Linked DNA regions of Homo sapiens: all the other regions are linked to region 3. The links are contacts of gene promoters, found by promoter capture Hi-C in blood cells and fetal thymus (Javierre and others, 2016). All regions are on one chromosome and are shown on one strand. Each heading gives the region's core, a stretch centred on a gene start or on the middle of the fragment in contact. The rest is flanking DNA. Distances are from core to core; before and after follow the strand shown.

Region 1 (2,745 bases), core at 3-2,502, 3.7 Mb before region 3:
GTGCGGCGTCCAGCTGCAGGTAGCGGGCGGCTAGCGGCAGAGAGCTGGCTAGTAGCGGCCGGAGCTGCTCCAGGGAAAACGCCTGCCCGGAATCCCTCCTCAGGGCGCTCGCCAGCTCCTCGCGGGCCACCAGGAAGGCCCGCTCCTCTTCCTCCCCCGGCATCCTGAGGCAGGAGTCAGCCCCAGCCTCGCCGCCCGCCAGGACCCGGCGCGGGCAGCGCGCGGCCCGAGCGCCGCCCCTCCCGTCTGGTGCCCGGCTTTGAGGCCCACCCCGGCCCACGCAGCCGCCCCAGGTCACTCAGACCACGGTCACTCTCCAGCCCCCGGCCCAGCGCCAGGGTTAGCCGAGAACAGGAAGTACTAGGAGAGAGGGTGGGACTGCGACCCAATTTCGGAGGAACGGGCGGGGCTTAAGGTTAAGGTTGGAGCGGTGTCAGGAAACCAGGGGGCGCGGCCAAGAGGGAGGGCCAGGTCCCAACCAATGAGAAGGCAAATGGCTCCTGGCTCCTCCCTCAGAGCGCGCCAGCATCTTCCCTCAGTCAAGCGCTCTTCCCCGCCTTCCCCCAATCTGGTTCCACCCCTTCCGGATAGCCGCAGGCGCGGGGTTATCCTATTCAGCTCAAAACCTTTCTTTTTCTAGCTGGACCAGTCCGGTACGCTCCGGGCCTCACCGAGGAAGTCCCACCCTGCAGGGGAACCGACTCTGGCCGGCCCTAACCCCTCTCGAGCGAGTCCCGCCCCATCTCCGGTCTGTCCTGAAGGCAGAGGGAAGACCCTCACCCAACCCCTGCCCGCTCTCTTCTAAGAGCTGCTAGTCCTTCTCCACCCCAGGCGCTCCCTCTGGCTGCCCCTCCCACTCGCTCTGATCTCTCTCCGTCCGCTACTTGCGGTCGAGCCTTCTTGGGGGAGCCCCGCCACTGAATACCCCCTTTGCCATACTCCCACCTCTCTTACCCCAACCCTGGACTTCCAGTTGGCCCTAGCTATAAGCCCCGCCCCTCTCCGAGGGACAGCCCCCGCTCCAGTCTCCGCGGTCCCACTTACCCTAGCCCCTCCCTCGGGCAGCCCCTGGACTGTGACCCAGCCAGCACCGCCTCTCCTAGTGGCAACTGGCTGGGAATGGCTGAGGGGCTACCTACTGCTTGCGGCCTGCCAGCGGGAGGAGGGGGGCGGAAAGAAGAAAGGGGGCGGGGTTGAGGGGGGCGGGCCTGGACCTGGGGAGTGAAAGCGAAAGCCCGGGCGACTAGCCGGGAGACCAGAGATCTAGCGACTGAAGCAGCATGGCCAAGCCGTGTGGGGTGCGCCTGAGCGGGGAAGCCCGCAAACAGGTAATGGGGAATCGGAGGCCAGGAAGGGGTCATAGAACCCTCTTGGGTGGAGGCCAAGCTGGGTGGTTCAGGGGACCAAGCAGTGCCAGAGAACTCCCCCAATCTCGCTAGTGCCTTCACTTCTCGGGGATTCCCAGATTCCTGCCTTCTGACTGCAGTGAGCAGGAGCTTCCAGGGAAAGCTAGTTTGTGGTGAGAAAGGCCTGAGCCACAGTTCGAGGGCACCCTGTTGTGGGTGGAAGCTTTTGACAACCCAGACCCTTAACCAACATCCGGGTACTGCTCTCTGTGTAGGTGGAGGTCTTCAGACAGAATCTTTTCCAGGAGGTAAGTCTCTGGATTTGAGCGATTTGACCCAGAATCTTGGACCAATACTTGAGGATAACAGCCTCTCAGAATGACCCCCCCAAGTCACCCTAGACTTAACCCTACTTCCCTTACCAAGCCTTCACCCAAAGTAACCCCGGAATTATTGATAGCTACCTTTAATCTGACCTTTCTTATGACTCTCCCGACTTCTGGCACTTCTCCCGTCTTTTGATGTGGAGGAAAAAAACCATGGCTTCCAAAGCAGGAATATCACAGTCCTAACCTTCGTTCTGCCATTTACCAGCTTGGGCAAGTCCTTTCATTTTCAGGTCTTCAGTTTCCTCATTTGCAAGTCTTGGACCCAGTGATTTCCAAAGGCCCTTCCAGTTCCATTTGTCAGACATCTCATTGAGCATATTCTGTGATTCCCCTCCCTTGCAATGTAACCCACAGGCTGAGGAATTCCTCTACAGATTCTTGCCACAGAAAATCATATACCTGAATCAGCTCTTGCAAGTGAGTAGTGTGGGCCCCTTCTGCCCCATCCTATGTCCTCTATCCCCTTTGCCCACCCTCTCTAGCTAACAACTGGATTCAGCATGCAGAGAATAGTTTCAAATAGTGGATTAGGAACATTAGGATGGCGTGAGGCATGAGCCTAGGTTGGGAGGCAGAGTGCAAGTGGGATGTATGGAGGGAAGGCTGTGACCTAGGATGAAGGGAAGAGGTTGGGCAGCCCTTGACAGTGAGCTCTGTGCAGGAGGACTCCCTCAATGTGGCTGACTTGACTTCCCTCCGGGCCCCACTGGACATCCCCATCCCAGACCCTCCACCCAAGGATGATGAGGTGAGGCACTCAGGGTGCAGGACTTGGACTATAAACCCAATGGAGAAGATAGCCCTTCAACCTCTGTGACTTTTCTAAAGCTACTTTCCCCCCTTTTTGCCTTAGATGGAAACAGATAAGCAGGAGAAGAAAGAAGGTAAGAGAGATAAGAGGTGACTAGGGAAGGGGTGATGGCACACTGACTACTGGATGAGAAAGGGCCTGAATCCCCTCTTTCTCACAGTCCATAAGTGTGGATTTCTCCCTGGGAATGAGAAAGTCC
Region 2 (2,813 bases), core at 289-2,788, 3.7 Mb before region 3:
CCCCCAAACCCATCTTCTCCTCAAAGAGCCATAAGCAAAGAAAGAAAGCCAGCTGCACCCTTTTCCAGTCAATTCCAGGTGGTCTCTCCCTTCAAGGCATTCTTTCCTCAAGAACAGGTTAGAGTCAGGGCAAATTAAACTTGTTTTTCAAGTAAATCGAAGTGGCCTCATATCATGTGTCAACTGCCTTACTAAAAAGTTCAACACTCCCTTCCCATCTCTTCACCCCTTACATCACTCCTTTCCCACTAGGACCCCCCCCTTTTTTTTTTCAAGCTTACTTGGAAAATAGACTATATTTGTGTAGTCACAGAGACAGGCTCCCTTGAATAGCCCCTCAAACACATGAGCAGGTCCTCTTGGTGACCCTCCCTAGGTAAGAACCACTCTTACTGGGTATGGAGCTGAGTGCCATGGGTGCCCAGCAGGGAAAGGCTGTTCAGCTCAAACAGAACAGCTGTCCTGAGCGAATCCCATTTCCTAACCTCTGTAATTTTCCTGCCTGGAGTTGGGATCAAGGCACTGTGGTAGCACCTGCTGGGGGTCACACCAGAGGGTAAGTTACCTGCGGAGGAGATAGGCCAGTACCTGGGCCAGATCCACATCTTCATCCTCTTCTTCCTCTTCCTCACTCCGACGCAGGCCAGCCCCTCTTCGGGGCAAGCCCTCGGAGGGGTCTCCGGACCCGGATCCTGCACTGCTGCTGTTCCGCGATCCCATCTTCTGGTCACAGCATTCTTAGGTCCTGTGCGGGGGCTCCTCCTGTCACCTCCTTGGGTTTGGTGAAAGCAAAGCGTGCTCTAGAAATACCAGGGTCTCCTGAGACGGGGTAGTAGCTATCTCTAGGAGGGTGACCCTTCCTCGGGGCTGAGATCCCTTTTCTTTAGCCTATGCCAACTACCAAGGCGTCGGGAACACAAACCTTCTCCAATCCTGTGAAGCAAAGAAAGCAAGAGTGAACCGTAGTGCGCTACCCTAGCTCACCAACTGAAGAAAGATTTGTTTTCTACACCAAACTCACCTATCGAAGTCCCCGGACTGGGGAGCGGGAGGGGTGTTGGGCGGTGTTGGATTTCCAGGTAACCTCTCTGACCGACCAATCGAAATCCCTCTCGGAAGAAAGCGCTTCACTAGCTTATCTCATCTAACCAATTAGAAGCCTTAGGACTCAAAGACCCTCGACGCCCCCACCTTATCGACCAATCAGAGCGCCCCCTTACAAAGGCCGGCAGCAGTGACAGCCAATGAAAATAGAATTTGGCCTAACACCCCTCCTTCCTCGCCTCACGCCCACGTGGTGCGCCGGGGGTGTGTACGCCATGAGGGGGAGGAAGCCGAGAAGCACCTCCCACTGAAGCCGGCGGTAACCGCCCCACGCGAGACCACCCACCAGCCAGGAGCGGTCGCAGGACCCGCAGCGGCGCGAGGCCTTGTTTACACCGACTGCCGCCACTGCGTTGGCCAACCGCTCCTCCGTCACGCGCTTCGCTCGTCACGCATCTCGCGGCTTCCTGGCCGGCGGGCTGCAAACGTCACACGACGGCCCCGCCCCCTTGGCCAGCCAACTGGACAGCGGAGCACGATGATTGATAGGTAGGCGGGAGAATGCGCGAGGTGCCTGAGGGGAGGAGAAAGTGCACACCCAAGGAGGGCTGTTAGCTCTTGCTGGGGAGGAGTAAGTGGGAACTGCCAGCTTCCTGAATCAGAGACAGCCGAACTAGGCGTAACGGCTGAGAGGCGGGGCTTAAAAAAGAAACGTTTGGTGGTTCGCTACCGAGAGGTATTTTAGCAAGGGATATAATTTACTGTCTGTCCCTAAAGATCATTTGGCATCGCACTTTTCAGACAGTGCCCAAGGGCCTCCTTTCTCCCCACTGCTTCCCCTGTCCAGCTGGAGCCGTTCTTCTGTCGCTGGCCGCAGCTCCAGTCGGTTCTGCCCTAAGGGGTGCCCAGCGTCCCAGTAGACCTCCATACCGTCCTTCCGGGCTTAGCTTTTGGAAGCCTTGCTCTTGGGACGGTCCCCTTTTAGACCTCCCTTTATCCGGTCTGACAATTTTTTAAGACAATCCCTGGCTTTCCGCCGCGGTCTTTGCAGACGTTCCCTAATACACGCGTCTTTCTGTCAAAGCTTTTCCGGTTCCGCTGTCCCCTTTGACGCTCCCTTGGCCCTCCGGGATTTGCAGACCTTCGCTAGTCCCTCTGTCCTCGCGGTGCCTCTCCGCCCCCGGCCGCGGGTCCAGGGTGCGCGCTCGCCGCCTCCTGCCCCCTCCTGCCCCCTCCTGCGGGTTTATGAGTAACAAGCCTGAGTCCAAGGCCGGGAGTTGCCACATCTCTGATCCTCGCCCTGGCTGGGTGGGGACGTGTGGGTTGAATGACCTTGCTGTCTCGGGCTCAGAGGCTCAGGGTCCGAGCTGAACTTCATTCCCTGCAGCCTGCACTTCCTTGGGAAAGCTGCGAGCTTCCCTCCGCCCGCTCCTGAGGGCAGGGATGGGAGCGAGGGCTCGTGGCCTTCTTGGGCCCTCCTGGGGCCTCTCCCAGTGAGGGCGAGGGTTTGGCCAGCTTTCGGGCGACGTCTCCTAGTCTCTAGATCCGGAGACCTGAGCTTGTCACCAGGGCTAGCTTTGATGGCCTCTGCGCTTAGAAGGGTCCTGAATGTTTGGTTTAATGTTCTAGTGTTAACGGTCTTGAAATTATTAGTAATTTTAAAGCAAGTGCCTGGTATTTTCATCTTGCACTCGGCTCCACTGATTATGTAGGCGGTCTGCTGGGCGCCCATCCTCTATTGCCAGATTACTTACTATCTGTGCTTTAAC
Region 3 (2,704 bases), core at 178-2,677:
AGGTGAAGTCTCCAGCCCCTGTAGCAGCCAAGTGCTGGGACATCTGCAGTTCCTTTGTTATTACATATTTGGGGCTGGCTGTACTTTCTTTGATGCACTTCCTTTCTTAGTGGAGAGTCTGCTAGCCAAACTGATAATGGACCTCCTCGGGGTTTATTGTTTTTATCAATTCCTTGTTGCTTCCCATATTTAAAGCAGTCCCAGTTTGGGCTATGACTTGGGAAAAAATCCAGGTGTGGTTCAGGCGCCCATAAAGACCACACGAGACTTCAGGTAGGGGAGGAGGCACTGCCCCTTTGCTGGAAGCAAAGTTGAGACAGGCCTAAAGACTGTCCCATCTGTCAAATAAGGTGACGAAAATAACCTTGTATTTGATTAATCCAATCTACAAACTTGTGCGTATGTTAAAGGTTGGTGGTCATAAAACTGAGTAAAGGCACGGTGGCTTGTCCCTGTAGTCCCAGCTACTGGGAAGGCTTAGGCAGGAGATCAAACTCAGGAGTTTGAGTCCAGCATAGGCAAGACCCCATCTCTATTGAATTTTTTTTTTTTTTTTTTTAGTAAAACGATGAAATCTTCTAGTAGTGGAGACACTAATGAAAAGATAATTTAACAATTTGATCAGCAATGGGGAAAGACGGGGCTCTGTAAGGACAGCTTCCAGGAAAACCCAGTCTTGTGTCCTGTCCTGAAAGTGACTCTAGCGACAAAGGCTGGAGTGATAATCTTAACTTTTTAATCCATTTCCTTCTGGTACCTCATTACTCTGACTTTTTAAAGGTACTTCTTTGAGTAGAACAGCTAACTTTGTCTACTGTTCCCCACCGTCCATTTTCTCCCCGCTCAGAAGATCCCAAGCTTCCGCACTCCTTTATTGCACCCGCCCAGCCTCCTTTAAAATGCATAAGCCACGCCCCCCATGTTCTGGCGCTAAGTTCGGGCCAATGCAGTTGCGCCGCTAGGATCACAGGACGAAAGAAGTAAAGTCACCAGCCAATAGGAAACCAGCTACAACGCAAAGCCGGAGAAAAGTGTTTTAGTGGTGTCTTTGAACCAATGAGGAGCAGAGCAACAGGGACCGTGCAGCTTCCAGAAACACGTGACCAGTTGAGCAGACGCAGCCTAGCCCTACCTCCTGGTCTGGAGGTAGCGCGATGGGCGTCGCTCCCAATAGCTTGCAGAACCTCTAGTCACGTGCAGGTTTTGCAAGCCCAGCAGCATCTGGCAGGTCATGTGACAGTTGACGTTTGTGCGTCGCTCCCCAATGGAAAAGGAGAGCTGCCTTCACAGGACCAGGAATTGGTTTATCTACGCGAATAATAGCATGACCCGGGCGGGGATAGCCTATCACGTGCTGCTAGACGGAACGGGGCGGGGCAGGCCACTGGTTGCGGAGTGAGCTGGGCGCGCGGCGCGCAGGCGCCCTGGGGACCCGGTAGCGGCGGTGGCGGTGGCGGCGGTGGCGGTGGCTGCGGCGACGGCAGAGGCGAAGGGAGCCGGATCGCCGACCTGAGCGGGAGGCGGCGGTGGCGGCCATGGCGGCAGATGGAGAGCGTTCCCCGCTGCTGTCTGAGCCCATCGACGGTGGCGCGGGCGGCAACGGTTTAGTGGGGCCCGGCGGGAGTGGGGCTGGGCCCGGGGGAGGCCTGACCCCCTCCGCACCACCGTACGGAGCCGGTAAACATGCCCCGCCCCAGGGTAAGCCGGGGCGGGTCCGAGGTGCTCCCCGGGGTACTCTGAAAGCCGGGGAGGGGGCGGGACCGAGGGCGGAGGCGGGTCCCAGTCGCCAGGTGCGGGACTGCTGCACCTGTGACTGGGCGAGGCTTCCTTCCCTCCGTAATCGCGACCACAGCCTAGGGACGGAAGGGGGTTCTGAGCAACCTGATAGAAGTGCCAATTATGAGAAGCCCTCCGAGCTTGGTCAGAGGGTTGAAGATCAGAAGGACTTCCCTACCACCGTGGAGCATCAGTGGGGGTGTAAGTGATCCCAGCCCTTCTATTTGCTTCCTCTCCAGCATTTCCCCCGTTTCCCGAGGGGCATCCAGCCGTGTTGCCTGGGGAGGACCCACCCCCCTATTCACCCTTAACTAGCCCGGACAGTGGGAGTGCCCCTATGATCACCTGCCGAGTCTGCCAATCTCTCATCAACGTGGAAGGCAAGATGCATCAGCATGTAGTCAAATGTGGTGTCTGCAATGAAGCCACCGTGAGTTACACATATCTATGAAATGGGCCCTGTTTCCTGGATCCTCTTTCTGATGTCTTGGTTCTAGACCCTGACCTTCCGGCTATTAGCCAAGTGCTTTTGATGATACCCAGGTTTCAGTTCCAGGTGTCTCACACAGCCATTTCCCCAGAAGCCACTCACCAAAGCTAATGTTCACTTTCTCTCACTTTTACACCTAGCCTAGTTCCTATTTGCAAATCTCATGATATAGTCTTTCTTTTATTTCTCCTTCCTGGTTAGCACCTTATTTTTCTGATCTCATAAAGTGTTTTTGGAGGGAAGTGGAGGGGATTGGGATTAGAGGTTTGCTTGCTGATGACCCTATTATTCTCTAGCCAATCAAGAATGCACCCCCAGGGAAAAAATATGTTCGATGCCCCTGTAACTGTCTCCTTATCTGCAAAGTGACATCCCAACGGATTGCATGCCCTCGGCCCTACTGGTAAGAGGCATAAGGTGGGGAAGGGCCTAAGTGGG
Region 4 (2,700 bases), core at 44-2,543, 3.8 Mb before region 3:
GGCCCAGCACCAATTGTGTCAAATAGGAAGGCAATGGAGTTAAACAGAGGCTGAGGATGCCTGTCCATCCCGGAAAAACAGCAAGTTGATTTCCCTGGTTATACTTACTAACTTTGCTTAATAAGTTAACGTAGCCCTGGCCCTTCACTTTGCTAATCCCATCTTTTACACCGTTTTGCAGGACAAGTGAGATAGAAGGGGCCAACCAGCTACTGGAGCTCTTTGACCTCTTCAGGTACTTTGTTCATCGGGAAATCTATCCAGGCAGCAAGATCACACACTTTGAGAGGTATGCGGAGATAAGGGAGGAGCAGGGTGAGAAAGTATCAGAGAGGCCTGGGAAACCAAGATACTAGCTTGGTTACTCCTGCCCTGTCTTGAATAGGTTGCAGCAGAAGACTGGAATTCCTTTCTCCCAGATGATCTTCTTTGATGATGAGAGGCGGAATATTGTAGACGTCAGCAAACTGGGTACTGAGTGATGAGGAACAGCCATTTGGGGTCCCTAGGAGGGATTAGGTAGATACATACAGGTTGGATAGTTTGCCCTATAGGTGGCACTCACAAAGGTCAGAGTAATAATGGAGAACCCTGAAAGCTTAATGAAATGTGACTTCTTATCTTTCTAGGTGTTACCTGCATTCACATCCAGAATGGAATGAATCTTCAAACTCTAAGTCAAGGGTTAGAGACATTTGCGAAGGCCCAAACTGGGCCTTTGAGGTCCAGCCTTGAGGAGAGCCCATTTGAGGCCTAAACTGAAAGGAAATCAAGAAGGCATTTTCAGGTGCATTTGTAATTTATTAAAGTTCATCTGTGTGTGACAGAAGAGATTTTACCCACAGTGTGGGGAGTTTCTATTTTTCTAGCCTGTGAAATGGGGTTGGTTGTCCTGAGGTGCAGAGACCAGAATGTGAGACATTAGACTGCATCAGGTTTGCCATCTAAACTTAGGGCAACCCCAAGTGCTTGAACCTATACCACCCCACTTTCCTGAGCTCTGTAAAGAGCATGAAGTTTTCCCACTGACCCCATACACTGAGGTGCCATCACACTGCACATTTCCTTCCGGAGAACAAGCACGTACTCAGGTGGAGATAGAACTGTCTTTTTACTTAATAGAAAATGATGTGGCAGCTTTAAGAGGAGCGCGTCGGTCTGGGGCTGGTGGCTTGGGTCACGTGACACCGGTGGTCTCGTTTGCGCCTCTTGATGTCGCGGCGGCGCCCTGAGGACGGATTGGGCAAGGCTGGTCCCTGTGTGATGAGACATCACCCTCCCAGGAGCAAGGCGGAAGTCTGGAGGACGCTGAGGGGCGGAGGCGGGAGAGGCGAGCTCGCGATGAGTGGTCTCGGCAGGCTCTTCGGGAAGGGTGAGCCAGGGTGGGACTGGCCAGCCAGGAGGCGCTGGCTGGTGCAGGGGAAGAGGAGACCCCGGCGAGATTCGGCCGGACCGCTGCGCCGGGCAGGGGAAGAGAATCAGGAGACAGGCTGACTGGAAAACCCCGGCGGCCGATGGCGGAGCAAGGCTCATCGCCGGTGCCAAAAGGCACACCATGTCGGGGCGCCTTGTTCCCGTCCGCCGTCCTCCCCCACTCTCAGAGGGAAGAACTCAAGATCTGGGAGGGGACTTGAGTTGAGGGCGTGGCGATCGTGCTGACTCCCACTGTTCAGGCTTGAAGACGAGTTTCCTGCTGTCTTCAGCCATTTTCAAAACCTTGTTCTATAATACTTTGTGCTGGGCAAGAGGGATCTAAGGTGAAGAAGAAAGACTGCCTTCTTAGCCCGGCGCGGGGGCTCACGCCTGTACTCGCAACACTTTGGGAGGCCGACGTGGGTGGATCATGAGGTCAGGAGTTTGAGATCAGCCTGGCCAATATGGTGAAACCCCGTCTCTACTAAAAATATAAAAATTGGCCGGGCGCGGTGGCTCACGCCTGTAATCCCAGCACTTTGGGAGGCCGAGGTGGGTGGATCACCTGAGGTCAAGAGTTCGAGACCAGCCTGGACAACATGGTGAAACCTTGTCTCTACTAAAAATACAAAAAAAAAAAAAAAATTAGCTGGTTGTGGTGGCACGCGCCTGTAGTCCCAGCTACTGGGGGAGGCTGAGACAGGTGAATCGCTTGAACCCAGGAGGCGGAGGTTGTAGTGAGCCAAGATTGCACCAATGCACTCCAGCCTTGGTGACAGAGGGAGACTCCATTCTCAAAAAAAAAAAAAAAAATTAGGTGGGCATGATGGTGTGTGCCTGTAGTCCCAGCTACTCAGGGAGGCTGAGGCAGGAGAATCACTTGAACCCGGGAGACGGAGGTTGCAATGAGCTGAGATCATGCCACTGCACTCTGGCCTGGGCAACAGAGCGAGACTCTGTCTCAAAAAAAGAAGTCCTGGCGCGGTGGCTCATGCCTGTAATCAAAACACTTTGGGAGGCCGAGGCGGGCAGATCACCTGAGGTTGGGAGTTCGACACCAGCCTGACCAACATGGAGAAAGCCTGTCTGTACTAAAAACACAAAAAATTAGCCAGGCATGGTGGCACATGCCTGTGATCCCAGCTATTTGGGAGGCTGAGGCAGGAGAATTGCTTGAACCCAGGAGGCGGAGGTTGAGGTGAGCTGAGATCACGCCATTGCGTTCCAGCCTGGGCAACAAGACTGAAACTCTGCCTAAAGAAAAAAAAAGAAAGGCAGCTAGGAATA
Region 5 (2,700 bases), core at 151-2,650, 3.1 Mb before region 3:
AGTAGGCTATAGCAGTTAGTATGGGCCCTGGAGCCAGACCATGGAGGTTTTTGAGTCCTGGCACTGTCACTTACTTATTGGCCATTGGACCTTGGGCCTGTTAATTCACTTGTTTGTGCCTTAGTTTCCTCAATAAATGAGACTATAATAGCATCTACCTCATGCTTGAGGTATTGAGAGGAGTAAACAATGTATGTAAAAGTGCTTGGAACTGTCCCTGTGCATTCAAGAAATCTTAAAAATTATTATTAGAATACAGGAGCGGCCGGGTGAGGTGGATCACCCCTATAATCCCAGGACTTTGGGAGGCTGAGGCCGGTGGATCACCTGAGGTCAGGAGTTCGAGACCAGCCTGGCTAAGATGGTGAAACCCCCGTCTCTACTAAAAATACAAAATTAGCAGGGCATGGTGGTGGGCACCTACAATCCCAGCTACTTGGGAGGCTGAGGCAGGAGAATCACTTGAACCTGGGAGGTGAAGGTTGCAGTGAGCCGGGATCATGCCACTGCACTGCAGCCTGGGCGACAGAGTGACTCTGTCTCAAGAAAAAAACAAACAAACAAAAAAACGGGCTGGGCGCGGTGGTGGTTCACACCTGTAATCCCAGCACTTTGGGAGGCCGAGGCAGGCGGATCACAAGGTCAGGAGTTCGAGACCAGCTTGACCAACGTGGTGAAACCCCGTCTCTACTAAAAATACAAAAATTAGCTGGGTGTGTTGATGCATGCCTGTAATCCCAGCTACTTAGGAGGCTGAGGTAGGAGAATCGCTTGAACCCGGTGGTGGAGGTTGCAGTGAGCCGAGATCGCACCACTGCACTCCAACCTGGGCGACTGAGTGAGACTCCGTCTCCAGAAAAAAAAAAAAAAAAAAAATTCAGGAGCACTTAATAAGCGATAAACTGAAGATGAGGAGGAGCCCGAACCTCCCCCAACCCAGCTCAGGGGACTATGTAACCGTGTGGAGGAGGCAGAAGCTCTCAGAGACTAAAGAGTAATTGCTGCGGTAGAGAAGGTTCTAGTACCCAATTTCGCGGGGGGAGATGGGGGAGGCGGAATAATAAGGCAGGAAGAAGAGAATGAAAAAAGGAGGCCTTGGGCGGCTCAGGGCTTGTTCTGAAGCTGATTTAAAACAAAACAACAAAACACATGTATGGTTTCTGCAGGCCACAGGATGAAGAGGAGAGGAGACGGAAAAGAGTTTAAAGGGGCCTGCCCTCTTTGCAGGCACCGGCTTGAACCTGGAGGCGACCTGGTGGGCTGGCCGGCCTGCCCCCGGCCCTGGGTCCCGCGAGGCAGGCGGGCGGGCGCGAACAGACTACAACTCCCGGCATGCGCCGCGGCGGGCGGGTCGCTGCACCTGCTCAGTGGGGCAGCCCCGGGCGCCTGGGTATTGATTATTCCATTGTGTGGGACGCCTAGACTCCAGCCAGTGAATGAGGCGGAGGAGTGAGGGCGAGGAGGAGGAGGAGGAGGAGGGCGAGGAGGAGAAGGAGGAGGAGGAGGAGGAGGCAGGGAGCGAGCGAGTGCCCAGGGTGAATCAATGGAAACCCCCTCACGAAGCCGGGGAAACACTTCAGCCGCAGCCAAATAGCATTGATTATTTTCCTTCACTTCCCTCACCGCCGTGAATTTATTTATTTATTTTTTTCCGTCTCCGTCCCTGACGCCCCGGAGCGAGCGCTGGAGGGAGGGAGGAGGAGGGGAAAAAAGAGGAATCAACACATCGGAGAAGTCCCTTCCAAGAGCCGCCCCCTCCCCTCCCCGCCTCGCGCTGCTCGGTGGCCGCGGTTCGACTCCCGTCCCTGCTTCCAGCTGAGGTGTAAGTGCATCGATTTCCGATGCTGCTGGGTTGGTTTTTTTCTCCTCTCCCTCTCTCTCTTCTTCCCTTCCTTGCTCTTTGGAAGCTCGAGACGGGAGAGGAGGCGCTTGGAGACTGCCGCTGGAGGGGACGGAGAGGGACGGGAAGGGGCTGGGGGAGGGGACAAGGACGGACGGACAGACAGACCGAGAGCCCTGGGAGATAGCAGACAGGGGTGTGGGAGGAAGAGGGCGTGCGCGAGGATGGGGGAAGAGAGATGCGGGGGTGGAGGGAGAAACGGGAACGGGAAAGGCAGAGGCCCGCCGGACAGACGAAGGGTATGGAAAGCCTAGACGGACCGCGCCGAGTTGGGCAGGGAGCGGGGATCCCGGGGGGAAGGGGAGGCCCGGTGAGTGTGAGGGCTCAGAGCTGTCAGCCTGGAGGGTCCTGGGTCTCGGCGGCCCCCCGCCGGCTGTGGGATGGGAGAACCGCGGCCGGCGGGCTGATGGATGGGCTAGCGCGCTGGGGCGTGGAGTGGGAGGGGACGTGGATACTCTCAGTCTTCGTTCGTTTTTGGCTGAAGTTGGGCTTTCCATTCCTTTTTTTGAAAGTGTTGAGTAGGTGAGGGGAGGCCATAAGCCCATTCAAGGTGAAGCGTGTCTGTCCTGCACGCCCATCCTACCACCCCCATCCGCTCGTCTGCCCCTCTGAGCAGCCCTATCATTTTCAAGCACAGGACCACGCTTCCTCGCTGTGCCTGTAGCCCCGCTGATCTCTGTCCATGTGTCCCTGACTTTTGGTTTTGCTGTTCTTCATCTTGTCTCTTCCATCCCATCCATCTCTGGATCTGTATGTCACTGTCTCCACTTGTGACCCTTCCCATCTGAGTGATCCTCTCC

What was found. Contacts are between HindIII fragments. The CHiCAGO score rates a contact against its expected background, and 5 or more counts as called.
Region 1: the fragment with the promoter of PSME2 here is called in contact with the fragment with the promoter of PIP4P1 in region 3 in 1 of 17 cell types (naive CD8 T cells); the score reaches 6.2 in naive CD8 T cells.
Region 2: a contact is called between the fragment with the promoter of DCAF11 here and the fragment with the promoter of PIP4P1 in region 3, in 6 of 17 cell types (naive CD8 T cells, non-activated CD4 T cells, activated CD4 T cells and 3 more). The highest score is 13.2, in naive CD8 T cells.
Region 4: a contact is called between the fragment with the promoter of CHMP4A here and the fragment with the promoter of PIP4P1 in region 3, in 5 of 17 cell types (fetal thymus, non-activated CD4 T cells, total CD4 T cells and 2 more). The highest score is 8.7, in fetal thymus.
Region 5: the fragment with the promoter of ZFHX2 here is called in contact with the fragment with the promoter of PIP4P1 in region 3 in 1 of 17 cell types (non-activated CD4 T cells); the score reaches 5.4 in non-activated CD4 T cells.

Annotation. Positions count from the first base shown.
Region 1 is chr14:24,145,117-24,147,861 of GRCh38, reverse strand. It overlaps PSME2 (proteasome activator subunit 2), which reads left to right and starts at 1,252. Exons shown (of 11, transcript NM_002818.3): 1 at 1,252-1,328; 2 at 1,622-1,654; 3 at 2,090-2,152; 4 at 2,397-2,483; 5 at 2,589-2,619; 6 at 2,707-2,745. The coding sequence starts at 1,281. It overlaps RNF31 (ring finger protein 31), which reads right to left and starts at 364. Exons shown (of 21, transcript NM_017999.5): 1 at 1-364. The coding sequence starts at 163. RefSeq lists silencers at 97-326, 357-446, 1,147-1,206 and enhancers at 288-582, 129-629, 767-836. The HindIII fragment of the contact is 5,988 bases long and covers 1-1,571 here.
Region 2 is chr14:24,113,502-24,116,314 of GRCh38, reverse strand. DCAF11 (DDB1 and CUL4 associated factor 11) reads right to left here and starts at 1,538. Exons shown (of 15, transcript NM_025230.5): 1 at 1,022-1,538; 2 at 566-933. The coding sequence starts at 720. It overlaps NRL (neural retina leucine zipper), which reads left to right and starts at 1,366. Exons shown (of 3, transcript NM_001354768.3): 1 at 1,366-1,593. RefSeq lists enhancers at 1,459-1,608, 1,849-1,988, 1,570-2,285. The HindIII fragment of the contact is 1,852 bases long and covers 279-2,130 here.
Region 3 is chr14:20,460,157-20,462,860 of GRCh38, reverse strand. It overlaps PIP4P1 (phosphatidylinositol-4,5-bisphosphate 4-phosphatase 1), which reads left to right and starts at 1,427. Exons shown (of 7, transcript NM_144568.4): 1 at 1,427-1,677; 2 at 2,016-2,206; 3 at 2,563-2,669. The coding sequence starts at 1,536. RefSeq lists enhancers at 763-842, 175-1,140, 1,143-1,212, 1,141-2,107 and silencers at 1,333-1,742, 1,803-1,972. The HindIII fragment of the contact is 6,669 bases long and covers 861-2,704 here.
Region 4 is chr14:24,212,081-24,214,780 of GRCh38, reverse strand. It overlaps CHMP4A (charged multivesicular body protein 4A), which reads left to right and starts at 1,293. Exons shown (of 6, transcript NM_014169.5): 1 at 1,293-1,372. The coding sequence starts at 1,342. NEDD8-MDP1 (NEDD8-MDP1 readthrough) reads left to right here. Exons shown (of 7, transcript NM_001199823.3): 5 at 182-289; 6 at 386-471; 7 at 630-838. The coding sequence ends at 757. It overlaps MDP1 (magnesium dependent phosphatase 1), which reads left to right. Exons shown (of 6, transcript NM_138476.4): 4 at 182-289; 5 at 386-471; 6 at 630-838. The coding sequence ends at 757. RefSeq lists enhancers at 1,144-1,438, 1,075-1,574, 1,002-1,810, 1,765-1,884. The HindIII fragment of the contact is 5,751 bases long and covers 601-2,700 here.
Region 5 is chr14:23,550,465-23,553,164 of GRCh38, reverse strand. It overlaps ZFHX2 (zinc finger homeobox 2), which reads left to right and starts at 1,400. Exons shown (of 10, transcript NM_033400.3): 1 at 1,400-1,822. It also overlaps a transcript of THTPA not described here. RefSeq lists enhancers at 1,047-1,096, 1,946-2,608 and a silencer at 1,227-1,466. The HindIII fragment of the contact is 16,619 bases long and covers 1-2,700 here.